4 separate regions of the Homo sapiens genome follow, and regions 1, 2 and 3 are each linked to region 4. Evidence: promoter capture Hi-C in human tissues and cell types (Jung and others, 2019). All regions are on one chromosome and are shown on one strand. Each heading gives the region's core, a stretch centred on a gene start or on the middle of the fragment in contact. The rest is flanking DNA. Distances are from core to core; before and after follow the strand shown.

Region 1 (2,700 bases), core at 145-2,644, 560 kb before region 4:
CGGCTGCATTTTCCCCACCTCTGGGGAGCACCTCTGTTCCAGAAGGCTCTGAGTTGGAAACACACAGGATGAATTTGGGCACATGTCCTCAGTCACAAATGCCAACAGAATTGGAATATCCAGCAAAGTGCTTTCCAGCCTCCTGGTGCCCAGAGACCTGGGAAGCCAGAGAGTGGAGAGTCCAGGGTAGGAGGTAGAAAGAGCTGTGCAGTGGAAACCCAGAAACCCAGCTCCAACCCTGACTCAGCCAACCGCTAACTCAGTGCCGTGGACAAAAGAATAATATCAACGTGCTCATGTGCATGTGTGTGCATGTGTGTGCGTGTGTGTGCATGTGTGTGCGTGTGGGCATGTGTGCATATGCATGTGTGTGTGTTTGCATGTGTGTGTGCATGTGCGTGTTTGTGTGTGTGTGCGTGTATGTGTGTGTCCCCATGTGCCGGGCCCAGAAAGGAAATATCACTGTGAGTAAAGAAAGAAGCCCTTGTCCTTCTGAGGCTTCCACTCAATTATAAGACAAGATGCACAAAAGTAGTGTAGATAAAGTGCAATGGCAAAAAGTAGATGACAACTTTACCTCCAACTACAGGGACTGGGACTGATTTCCTGGCAAGGAGGCATTTGGGAGAACAAACAAGTGCGAAGTGCCCAGGAGGAGAGGCCAAGGAGGTTTAAAGGCGTGTTCTCAGAACACCAAGTTTAGTTGACGTCTACCTCCTCTCAGCAACTTTCTACAACAGTGAGTTGACTCCTCCCTATTCTCTGAGACATAAAGCTCATTCCAAACGGTTCAAGGCTTGACTGTTCATACTTATTGTTGTTGCATTTATATTACCATCAAGAGCATTTGTGATGATCTGCTACCAGGGTGCTTAGTGCGTGTCTTGTCTCTCTAATAGCACAGTCAGGGAATAGGTCCAATGCTTTCTCTTATTCCCTGCCAGCCTGCCGTGCAATCTCTGGGTTGGAAGGAACCCTGGAAATCATGCTATCCAGTTCCCCATCTTCTCTTTCCCGGAGGCCTCTGCAAGACTGACAGGCATACCGTCTGCCTCTTTATTCTGTGTTTGTGCAAAACAGTGTGTTAAAACAGGTTCTGTTTTAGTATCAGCCGAGGCTCCAAGACACCAAGAGTGACTGCACCCCATTTCTAAGGAAAAGTGAAAGACCACAAAGACTTACACAGGAGGTAGTCAGAAACGGGTTTTAGGGCCCCAATCTATCCACCACCCGAACTTTAAAGAATTTGGAGGCCGGGCGCGGTGGCTCACACCTGTAATCCCAGCACTTTGGGAGGCCCAGGCGGGTGGATCACAAGGTCAGGAGATCGAGACCATCCTGGCTAACACAGTGAAACCCTGTCTCTACTAAAAAAAAAATTACAAAAAAATTAGCCGGGCGTGGTGGCGGGTGTCTGTCGTCCCAGCTACTCGGGAGGCTGAGGCAGGAGAATGGCGTGAACCCGGGAGGCGGAGCTTGCAGGGAGCCGAGATCGCACCACTGCACTCCAGACCCGGTGACAGAGCGACACTCCTTCTGAAAAAAAAAAAAAAAAAAAAAAGAATTTGGAGCTGGGCTGGGATTAGACAAGAATTTGGGGAGATAGCTGCCAATCCTTACACTCCCCACCCTTCTGGGGAGAGGCTGTTTCTAACCACCTCAAGCCTAGGTGAAGGGGCTTCCATGAGACCTCCTGGAAGGCTTGCAGCATGTTCCCTGGATCACGGGAGACTCCATCGATTGATGTCTGGCTCACCCTGAGAAATTTAAAGGGCGAGAGATGGCGGCAGGCCAGTTGCGCCGAAGGTGGAGTGAGACGAGGTGATCGCGTTGAGGGAGACTTGCTTTTCCCGAGTCTGTCAGGGCAAAGCATGTGTGAGTTTCCCATGGAGCAGAACTGGCCTGGGAGGTGCGGCGCCAGATGCTAGGGGGTGAGGGAGAAGCAGTGGAGGAACGGTCAGAAGAGATGCATGCTCCCAGTCAGGCAAAGGCAGATAAGAGGCGGTTGCTGCAAATTACCCATGAAGGAACCCATGAGGTGAGTCATCTGTCAACCCCAGATGGCTGGAACACCACCAGCGGAGTGAGTCTCTTCCCACCCGCTTCCCTCCTCTCTTCTCCTCTTGCCCTGGCCAATCCTGGAGAAGCCAAGGGGTGGGGGGAGTATGGAGGGAAAATGGAAGCACCAGGTGAAGCAAATAGAGGCGCACAGCCCCACAACCCCTTCTCACTGCAGGTGCCAGCCTAATGCAGCAAAGCTGGGAGAGGGAGGAAATTTTCATTTGCAATGTCGATGGGAGGATTTGGGTCCTTATCCTGGAATGGGCATATTAATTACCAATGGAGACTGGGTTTTTGTGGAAGAAGTAACTGGATCATGTTTTCTTAGATAAGGGCGACAAAAGACTTCGTAGAACTTGCCCCACTTTTATTAAGGAGCAGAATAAATATTGCAGAACAAGCTTAACAAGACAGTGGGAGACCAAAAATACGATTCGTTTCTGTTGCATCCTACAAGTCCCTGCTTGTTCAATATGATGGTGTAATATATACACAATTTCCAAAATTGGGATCATATGCTACATGGTATTCAAATCTTTTTTTTTCTCAAAGAATAATATATCATGAAGTTTTTCCCTTGGAAGAAAATATTCATCTACAAGTCGAACATACCACCATCTGGACATGCTGTAATTTATT
Region 2 (2,700 bases), core at 187-2,686, 580 kb before region 4:
AAATTAGCTAGGTGTGGTGGCACATGCCTCTAATCCCAGCTACTTAGGAGGCTGAGGCACAAGAATGGCTTGAACCCAGGAGGCAGAGGTTGCAGTGAGCCAAGATCATGCCACTGCACTCCAGCCTGGGCAATAGAAAGAGACTCTGTCTCAAAAAAAAAAAAAGAAAAGAAAAGGAAGAAAGAAAAGTAAAAGAAAGAAAGAAAGAAAGAAAGAAAGAAAGAAAGAAAGAAAGAAAGAAAGAAAGAAAGAATCAATATGAAGAGATGAAGCCTTTGCTTAAGTGAAGTTAGTGCACAGAAGTGAGGCAGAAGCAGAGTCAGGAAGACCTCTCAGAGGAGGCACCACTGAGGAGAATTTTTACATATAAGCCGGAGTTAGAGAGAGGTGTATGAAGGAAGGGGATTTTATTTGGAGATAGTAGATATGTAAAGACACAAAGCTGGAATGAATTATGGCAAGAGGTTTATTTGATTACAGTGGAAACTTCAAGGAAGGGAGCACTGAGAAAAGAGGCTTGGAGAAGCTGGCAGGGACTAGATAATCATAGGCCTTGAATGCCAAGCCAAAGAATTTGGATGCTAGTCTGAAAATATTTGGAGCCACAAAGGTTTATTTTGGGTAGATAGTTTCCAACAATGGTCACCAGTGATTCCTTCCCTCCCTGTACACATATGATGCTCTACCTATCAAGACGTAGGATCCCTTTCCATTCCCCTTGGACCTTGCCTAGCCTTGTGACTTGCCTTGTCCTGTACAGTATGACAGAAATGACACAGTGCCATTTCTGGAGTGAAACTTGAAGATATCAGGCAGCTTGCTATAAAGCAGCTCAGATTCCTGAATGATGTGATACCATGTTGGGAGAAATGCCATGTAAAGGAGAAGTGAGGTGTGAGACATGTGTGTGAGGTCTTCCTGAACCTTTCAGCCCAGCCAAGCTGCCAGATGGATACAGCTGGATGAGTGACTCCTAGCGTATACCAAGCAGAACAGAAGAACTGCCCAGCTGAGACCTGCCTGCATTCTTGACCCACTGAATCATAAGCAATGGTGAATCATTGTTGCTTTCTGGATGATTTGTTATATAGTAGCAATAGACAACTGAAACACATTTCATTTTATCTTCAAAATAGTACAAGGATATAGTATTCCCTCCATTTAGATATGATGAAAATGAGGCTCAGCAAATCACAGAGCAATAAAGGATTCTAAGAGGCATTCAAGATTGAACTCAACCTTTACCAACTGTAGAACCCATGCTCTTTTCACTAGACATAGGGAATAAGCCTAGTATTTAGCTAAAATTTTGGATACAGTCAGCCTCTATTCTGATTGATCTGGAGTTCCTTCCAATTACTCAAGCCCTTTTCTTTACTTGTTATTAAATATTTGGAATACTGCGATTGCCTGGGAGCACAGGATTATGAGACAAGAACCATAACCATCTTTGAAAGATGTTGGAAGTCTTTCCAGTTTATAGAAAATATCCCCCAAGTCTTGTTTTCCTGGCCTTACCAACCTGGCTTATTTTGGATACAATCAGTACCTGAGGGTGAGGCTCAGAAGTGCCATCTGGTCCTCCCATGTCTCCATGGCATATCTCATACACAGCCAGAAATGGCTGTCAGCAGGAATGCCCTACAGGCCAAACAAAAATGCACCCAGTAATAGATGCATGTTTATTTTCTTTTCCATTTCCCACCTTTCTCTCACTTTATTTCAGAGCTTTTGCTGTCTGTTTTACTACTTGGGAAAGCCCCTTGGAGTATCATTCTGAAGTAAAATTACTTCATTTAATCCAATGTATTGCTCTTGGAAAAAGGTTTTATTTCCCGTACTTGAAGCTGGGCAGTAAACAATAAGCTTCTATTTTTCCTAATCCTAATTTCCAACCTTTTCTTGTGTCTTCATAGTTAAGGGAGCTAACAAATTTGTACCATGCCCCATCATTGAAGGAGACTTTGCCTAGAGCCTGGATGGAAAAACAGATATTTCTGTTCAAATTTTACTCAACACACTCCCAGAAGAAAAGGCAGTGAACCAGTTATGCTCAGGTAGTTGCCTTCACGTTTGTAGGGAGTTGTTCTTCCAGGTTGAGTGGTTCCAAGAATGAGGTACAAATTCTTCAGTTCTACAACATTTTCAGTGACTGCATCCTGCACACGAGAACTTTCTATGCAGCTTAGCAAAACAAGGTAGGCATTGACTTTGGAATCAGAAGAACATTCGGGCTCTTCTCAACCCATTTCAATCAGACTTTTACCCCCACCATGTAACAAAGTCACCAATGGCCTGTCAAGGTCACTAGTGCCTGCATCTGACCAAGTCCAACAATGGATTTTAATCCTCATCTTACTTAATAGCAGCAACTGACACTGTTGATCCTTCTTTTCATGAAACACTTTTTTTTTACTGGGTTTCTAGGCAGTCCCACATTCTTTTTTCCCCTCTTCCCAATCTGTCTCTTCCATCTCTCCCTCTCTGGATTCCCCTCTTCCTCCTGACCTATATAGACTGACAGACCCCAGGCTCACTTTCAGCCTTCTTGTTTCCTCTCTCTGCTCTCATTCTCCATGTGATCTCATCCAGTCCATGGCTTCAAAGTCAGTCTACATGCTGAGGACTCCCACATTTTATCTTTAAATCCATTGTTTCCCTTATTAGAAATGTCCAAAATGGAATTCCTAATTTTTCCCC
Region 3 (2,700 bases), core at 127-2,626, 600 kb before region 4:
CTGCCTCTCTCAGCAGAGCTTGTGTCACTCGCTCCCTGGAGGGGCAACTTCTTGAATGAAATCACTGAGCGGTGGAGAGGAGGTCTTTGTAAGGCTTTTAAAGTCAAGCTCTTCCCCAGGCTGGGATTGGGAAATGCAAAATTTGCTGATTGAATTCAAGCTTCTCCGAGCAGGTGCAACAAGTGTGAATGTTCTCAGATTGTGAACAAGGCCATGACTAATTCTCACTTCATGTACCCAGCCTCCAAGCCAAGAGCCACAGGTTCACTTCTTCATGAATCCCCGTGAAAAGCAAATGCAATCCTCCCCTCTGGTAGGAGCCTGGGCATGAAGTCAAGGTGGAGAAGGCTCGTTATCTTAATGGTGTTGAGATCATAATTACAATAATAGTAACAAATAATATTTACTGAGCACATACTCTGTGCCAGGTACTGTTATAAGCACTTTGCATAAATTAAACTAACTCATCTCAGAAACCCTGAAGCCAATAATACTACTATCCCAATTTTACAAAAACAAAAAGATGTCCAGAAAGGTTATACGTAGGTGGATAAGGAGGTAGAAAACCACAGAGTTGTCAAAACCTGTAACACAAAATAAACAATATCCATACATAAAAATAGTAACATTTTTACTAGAACTGACTACAGGACCTCAGATTAATCACCACACATGGACCTACTCAGAGGCATCTACAGCGTATCAGGACAAAACGGACTTGAATGAGCAACGCTAAAAGCCATGAGAAGTTCAAGAGAATGCTTTTGTTGTGAGAGACAGTGTGCCCAGCTAGAGGGTATTAGGGAAGGTTTAGGGAACAGGTGAGGCCTGGGATCTTGAAGGATGGGCAGGATGTCATTCCAGGTTAAGGGAAAAAGAAAGAGGGAGGGAGGGAGGAACATGTCCAAGGAAGTGCAGGAATTGGATTGTGGCTGGAGTATTGACCACACACACCGGGATTTTCAGACAGCCACAGTAGACTCCAAAGGCCCTCTCAATTCATCTCTAGAATAACTCAGTTTTTATCTACTTTATCTATTGGGCTTCTGTATGCATTTCATTTGAAGAAACAATTCATTTAATTTCTATTTTTAAACCTGAACACCAGAAGGTAGAGAAAGCATAGAGGAGGAAGAGGAAACAAAGCAAGAATGCTAAGTTGGGAGAAGAGCCTGGAGAGCTGCAGTCAAGAATATCAAACCTGCACCATTCCCCACCACCTCTCTCCATTCTACGACCATAGCAAACATCACTGGTGGAGCAGGTAATCCTTCCCTACTGTGCAGACTCCGAAGCCTTCCATAAACATCAATGACTCCAGGCATCAGAAGTGAGGCATCACGGAGCTAGGCAAGGGAGTATGGGCTTTTTTCCTACGACAACAGAGAGCATGTGTTTTTGAAACATTGTCCCTAAAGGTTCATTGATTTCTAAATAATGCTACCGCGATGGGGCCATGAATCCATGTCCAGGCCTCACTTGTAGGCAATCTCATCTCAAAGAGATCTTCACAAATGACTCCCTAAGTGTCCTGATCTTCCCTCCTACAAGGTCCAGATCCCCAACAATGATTAATCAGTGAAACAAGAAGTGAGAAAGGACTTCCATAGTGTCCAGAAGGCCAACCTGGACTGACCGTTTTTCCATTACCACACAGTGAGAAGCATCCTTTGTTAGTAGTGGAAATTTGGGGATCCAGGAGTAGAGTCAAAATCTATGTTTCCCAGTCCAGAGATGGCAGGTGATGGGGTAATGAGGCTGCTACAGAGGAGGGGTAAGAAGCAGGTGATTCAAGCAGTAAGGAAGGATAAAGGGTTAGGCGGAATACAAGATTCACCTGCTCCTTTAGGTGTAAGAAGCAGGATCTATAGACATAACTGTGCTCTGCTATATATCTCTGCGTGACCTTAGACATGTCAGTTCACCTCTCTGAGCCTCAGGTTTCCCATTTGTACCTTGGAGGTAATGCTTTCACCTAACGCCCCACCTCACAGGGTATGTAGGGAACATCTGTTGCTTATTCCCCCTTCTCCTGTCAACAACAAAATTTGCTTTTTACCCAGCTTGGAAGGGCCTTCTCATCAAGGTTTCTCCATAGTCTCTGGGCCAAGGAGTGTGCCCAGGCTGGGCCCATCTGACACCCTTACCCCGGATTCCTGAACAGGGAAATGCAAAATTGAGAACAGTCAGGACCAAGGCAGGGCAAAGGTAGAGCCTGAAGAGACGACCCCTTTATTCCCGCTCCCCCGTCCCAGCCCCAGAGAGCTCTGGGTCCTGCCATTGTGTGACCCATCTGCATAGTTCAAAAAATCTCTCGATACTTAGATGAGCCAGGGTCACCAAGAATGCTGGCTGACACAAAGGTATCGAATGAGGACGTGATGTGAGGAAAGGCACTTAGACAACATAAAAGATGTATACAAATGCCAGATGGTATTCTCCAGAACATTCCACACTGTCAGCCACCCAAGGGTCTTATTAAATGATTGTTGAAGCAAGACTGTTGAGTGTGCTCTCTGTTCTTGGACACAACTTTTCAGAGATGCTTCTGGCCTTTTGTGCTCATGGACAGAGCTACTCACTATGGTCCTTTTGCATCCCCAGCAGGTCACAGGGCACTGAGTCACTAGAATGTGTCATCTTTATCACACGATGCTCAAAGCCTTCTGTCTCTTTTCCCTGTCTGATTTACTTCCTTTA
Region 4 (2,700 bases), core at 7-2,506:
TGAGCCAGCATGTATTATTTTTCTGAAGGGACAAATAAGGAGCTGACACCTTCAAGGCAAGTGGTTAAAGCCAACACTGGAATTCAAGAGTCCTATCTCATAACCAGAGTTTTTTTAATGTTCTGCCACATGATTTCCAAGCCCAATCCCTGTTTTGAGTCTACATGATCCAGGGCTGAAGGTAACTTTGAAAGATCGTATGTGATAAGGAGAAAATGCAACTGAAATAACCAAAAACACAATTCAGTAATTATCGAGTGCCTGGCATCTTGTCAGTACAATTGTGAGGAACGAATGAGACAGTATATGCGAAGGAACCCACCACAGTGCCCGGAACACTTCCGTATTTTCCATAAATATTAGTTTTGACTGATGAACTATTTACACTCATGAAAGAATAGGAAGTAATACTCTACTAATTCAAAAATATTCGCGGAGTCACTATTATTAATAAAAACTGTTAGGCACTGCCAAGGGCATCAAGAACCCATGCTGGTGCGATCATTTAGCACTCCGGGTCTCAGGACTTTGTGGGAATACTGACAAGTGCTTTAAGTAGAAGCTAAATAGAGGGAAGGGGGCCAAAGACAAAAATATTTGGCTGGAAGACGAAATCAGAAAAGACTTCCTAGAGGAGATGACATTTAAGATGTGCCTTGAAAAACGGATATAACTGAAGGACTTTAACCATCAGCGCGGGGTTGGTACGGGCAGGGGGAGCTCGCCGAAGAGGGAGGGGAGAGTGGGTTTGCCGGAGGTCACCGTTTTGGGAGGCCTGACTGCCCAGCTGTAAGAGCAGTGAAGACAAACGGGAGGTACCGGAGATTGCAGGGCAGGGGCGTTGAGACCAGCCGGCAGCAGCCAGGCCGGCCAAATGCCAAGTGGGAGTCAAGCCGCTTACAACGCGGGGATTCTCGCCCATGGACCCGGAATGGGGCCTGGGAAAGCCGCTTCCCCGTGGAGGAGGAGGGACGGCGGGGGACGCGGCGGGCGCTGGAGCCTGCCAGGGTTTGCGTTCGCGCGGACGGAGGGGCCGAGGCCGGGGCCGGGGCCCCGCGGAGGGCGAGGCCTGGGGCCCGGGATAAGGCGAAGAGGCCCCAGCTTCTCACCTGCGGCTCGCAGAGCTTGGCGCAGTAGGACGCGGGCGGTCCTGACCGCCGCTCCGGCCTCTCCTCGAACACCGAGTCCTCGAACTCGCCGCCGAACAACCAGCACCCGGAATCCATCTCGCGCCCGCGGCGGGGGCAACGAGGAAGCGGGGCCCGCCGGAAAAGGCGGGGCTTCCACGGCCCAGAGCGCGGCACGCTGGGACTTGTAGTCTTTGAGGGCGACGCGGGGACGTGGCCGCTGCTGGTTGGGAGTAGTGGTTGAGCTGAGATGATTATCTGACCCACTAACTGACCGAACCCCAGGACGGAGGTTTTGACTTCTCTGTGTCAGGAGATGGACAGAATGATCCTTACCTGCACGCATCAAAAAGCACGCTGGCCCCAGAGTAGCTGTTTAAAACTCGCAGGTACCTTTTTAAAAATTAAAATAAGAGGCCGGGCGCGGTGGCTCAAGCCTGTAATCCCAGCACTTTGGGAGGCCAAGGTGGGCGGATCACTTGAGGTCGGGAGTTCGAGACCAGCCTGACCAACATTGAGTAACCAGGTCTGTACTGAAAATACAAAAATTAGCCGGCCGTAGTGGCGCGCGCCTGTAATCCCAGCTACTCGGTAGGCTGAGGCAGGAGAATCGCTTGAACCCGGGAGGCGGAGGTTGCGGTGAGCCAAGATCGCATCATTGCACTCCAGCCTAGGCAACAAGAGTGAAACTTCGTCTCAAAATAAAAAATAAAATAAAATAAAATAAATAAAATAATTTCGAGACAGGGTCTCGCTCTGTCGCCCAGGTTGGAGTGCAGTGGTGAGATCATGGCTCACTGCAGCCTCGAACTCCCAGACTCAACCTATCATCCCGCCTCAGTCCCCCAAGTAGCTGGGGCTACAGGCGCGCGCCACCATGACCGTCTAACTTGTGTATTTTTTGTGGAGACTGGGTTTCCCTACGTTGCCCAGGCTGGTCTCGAACCTGATCTCAAGCGATCCGCCCACCTCGTTCTCCCAAAGTGCTGGGATTATAGGCGTGAGCCACTAAGCCCGGTGCAAGTACCAATTGTCAACCACTGTGCATTCCCGTCACTGTGTTAAGCACATTTTTTCTTTTCGGCTAACAACCACCTTATGAAAGCCAAAGTGATTCCCATTTTGCAAATCCTATTTTGAAGATATTGGAGTTTGGAGAGGTTAAGTAACTTGTTAAGTTTCGGTCATTATGTGGCTGAAACTTGGGAAATACAGAAATGAATGCGTACTCTCCGTGCTTCCGGACAAGAGACACTACCACCAATAACAAAGACCGGAGTCATTCACGCATTTATGAAAGAAAAGACACAGAAATATACCGTGGGAGGCTAGATCAGGGAGCATTCATTCGACCTGGAGAACACCAAATCTCAAAATTCTAAGACTAACATTTACTACAATTCTTATACTTTTAAGATATTTCTTGACTCTAGAAAGTAAAGATTGTTGACAAAATGCTGGCCAATACTGTACAGCACAATATTGTGCCATATTACACAGTAGGAAATAAACATAAAGGTTTTCCCCGATTTTTTTCCTGTTCCTCTTCACTCTCACCAGTTTCTCTTCCACC

What was found. Contacts are between HindIII fragments. The study calls those that stand out against the background at their distance.
Region 1: a contact is called between a fragment that was not itself captured here and the fragment with the promoter of C8orf76 in region 4, in 1 of the 25 tissues and cell types used here (aorta).
Region 2: a fragment that was not itself captured here is called in contact with the fragment with the promoter of C8orf76 in region 4 in 2 of the 25 tissues and cell types used here (IMR-90 fibroblasts and dorsolateral prefrontal cortex).
Region 3: a fragment that was not itself captured here is called in contact with the fragment with the promoter of C8orf76 in region 4 in 1 of the 25 tissues and cell types used here (aorta).

What each region holds. Positions count from the first base shown.
Region 1 is chr8:122,681,492-122,684,191 of GRCh38, forward strand. The region is part of intron 2 of LINC01151 (long intergenic non-protein coding RNA 1151); the gene reads right to left. Among named protein-coding and RNA genes, the nearest start is that of LINC01151, 11 kb to the right of the region's middle. The HindIII fragment of the contact is 7,881 bases long and covers 1-2,700 here.
Region 2 is chr8:122,663,365-122,666,064 of GRCh38, forward strand. No RefSeq gene overlaps it. Among named protein-coding and RNA genes, the nearest start is that of LINC01151, 29 kb to the right of the region's middle. The HindIII fragment of the contact is 4,474 bases long and covers 1-2,700 here.
Region 3 is chr8:122,635,097-122,637,796 of GRCh38, forward strand. No RefSeq gene overlaps it. Among named protein-coding and RNA genes, the nearest start is that of LINC01151, 58 kb to the right of the region's middle. The HindIII fragment of the contact is 5,244 bases long and covers 1-2,700 here.
Region 4 is chr8:123,240,121-123,242,820 of GRCh38, forward strand. C8orf76 (chromosome 8 open reading frame 76) reads right to left here and starts at 1,257. Exons shown (of 6, transcript NM_032847.3): 1 at 1,110-1,257. The coding sequence starts at 1,226. All of the region lies in intron 2 of ZHX1-C8orf76 (ZHX1-C8orf76 readthrough), which reads right to left. RefSeq lists an enhancer at 1,043-1,543 and a silencer at 1,044-1,163. The HindIII fragment of the contact is 18,562 bases long and covers 1-2,700 here.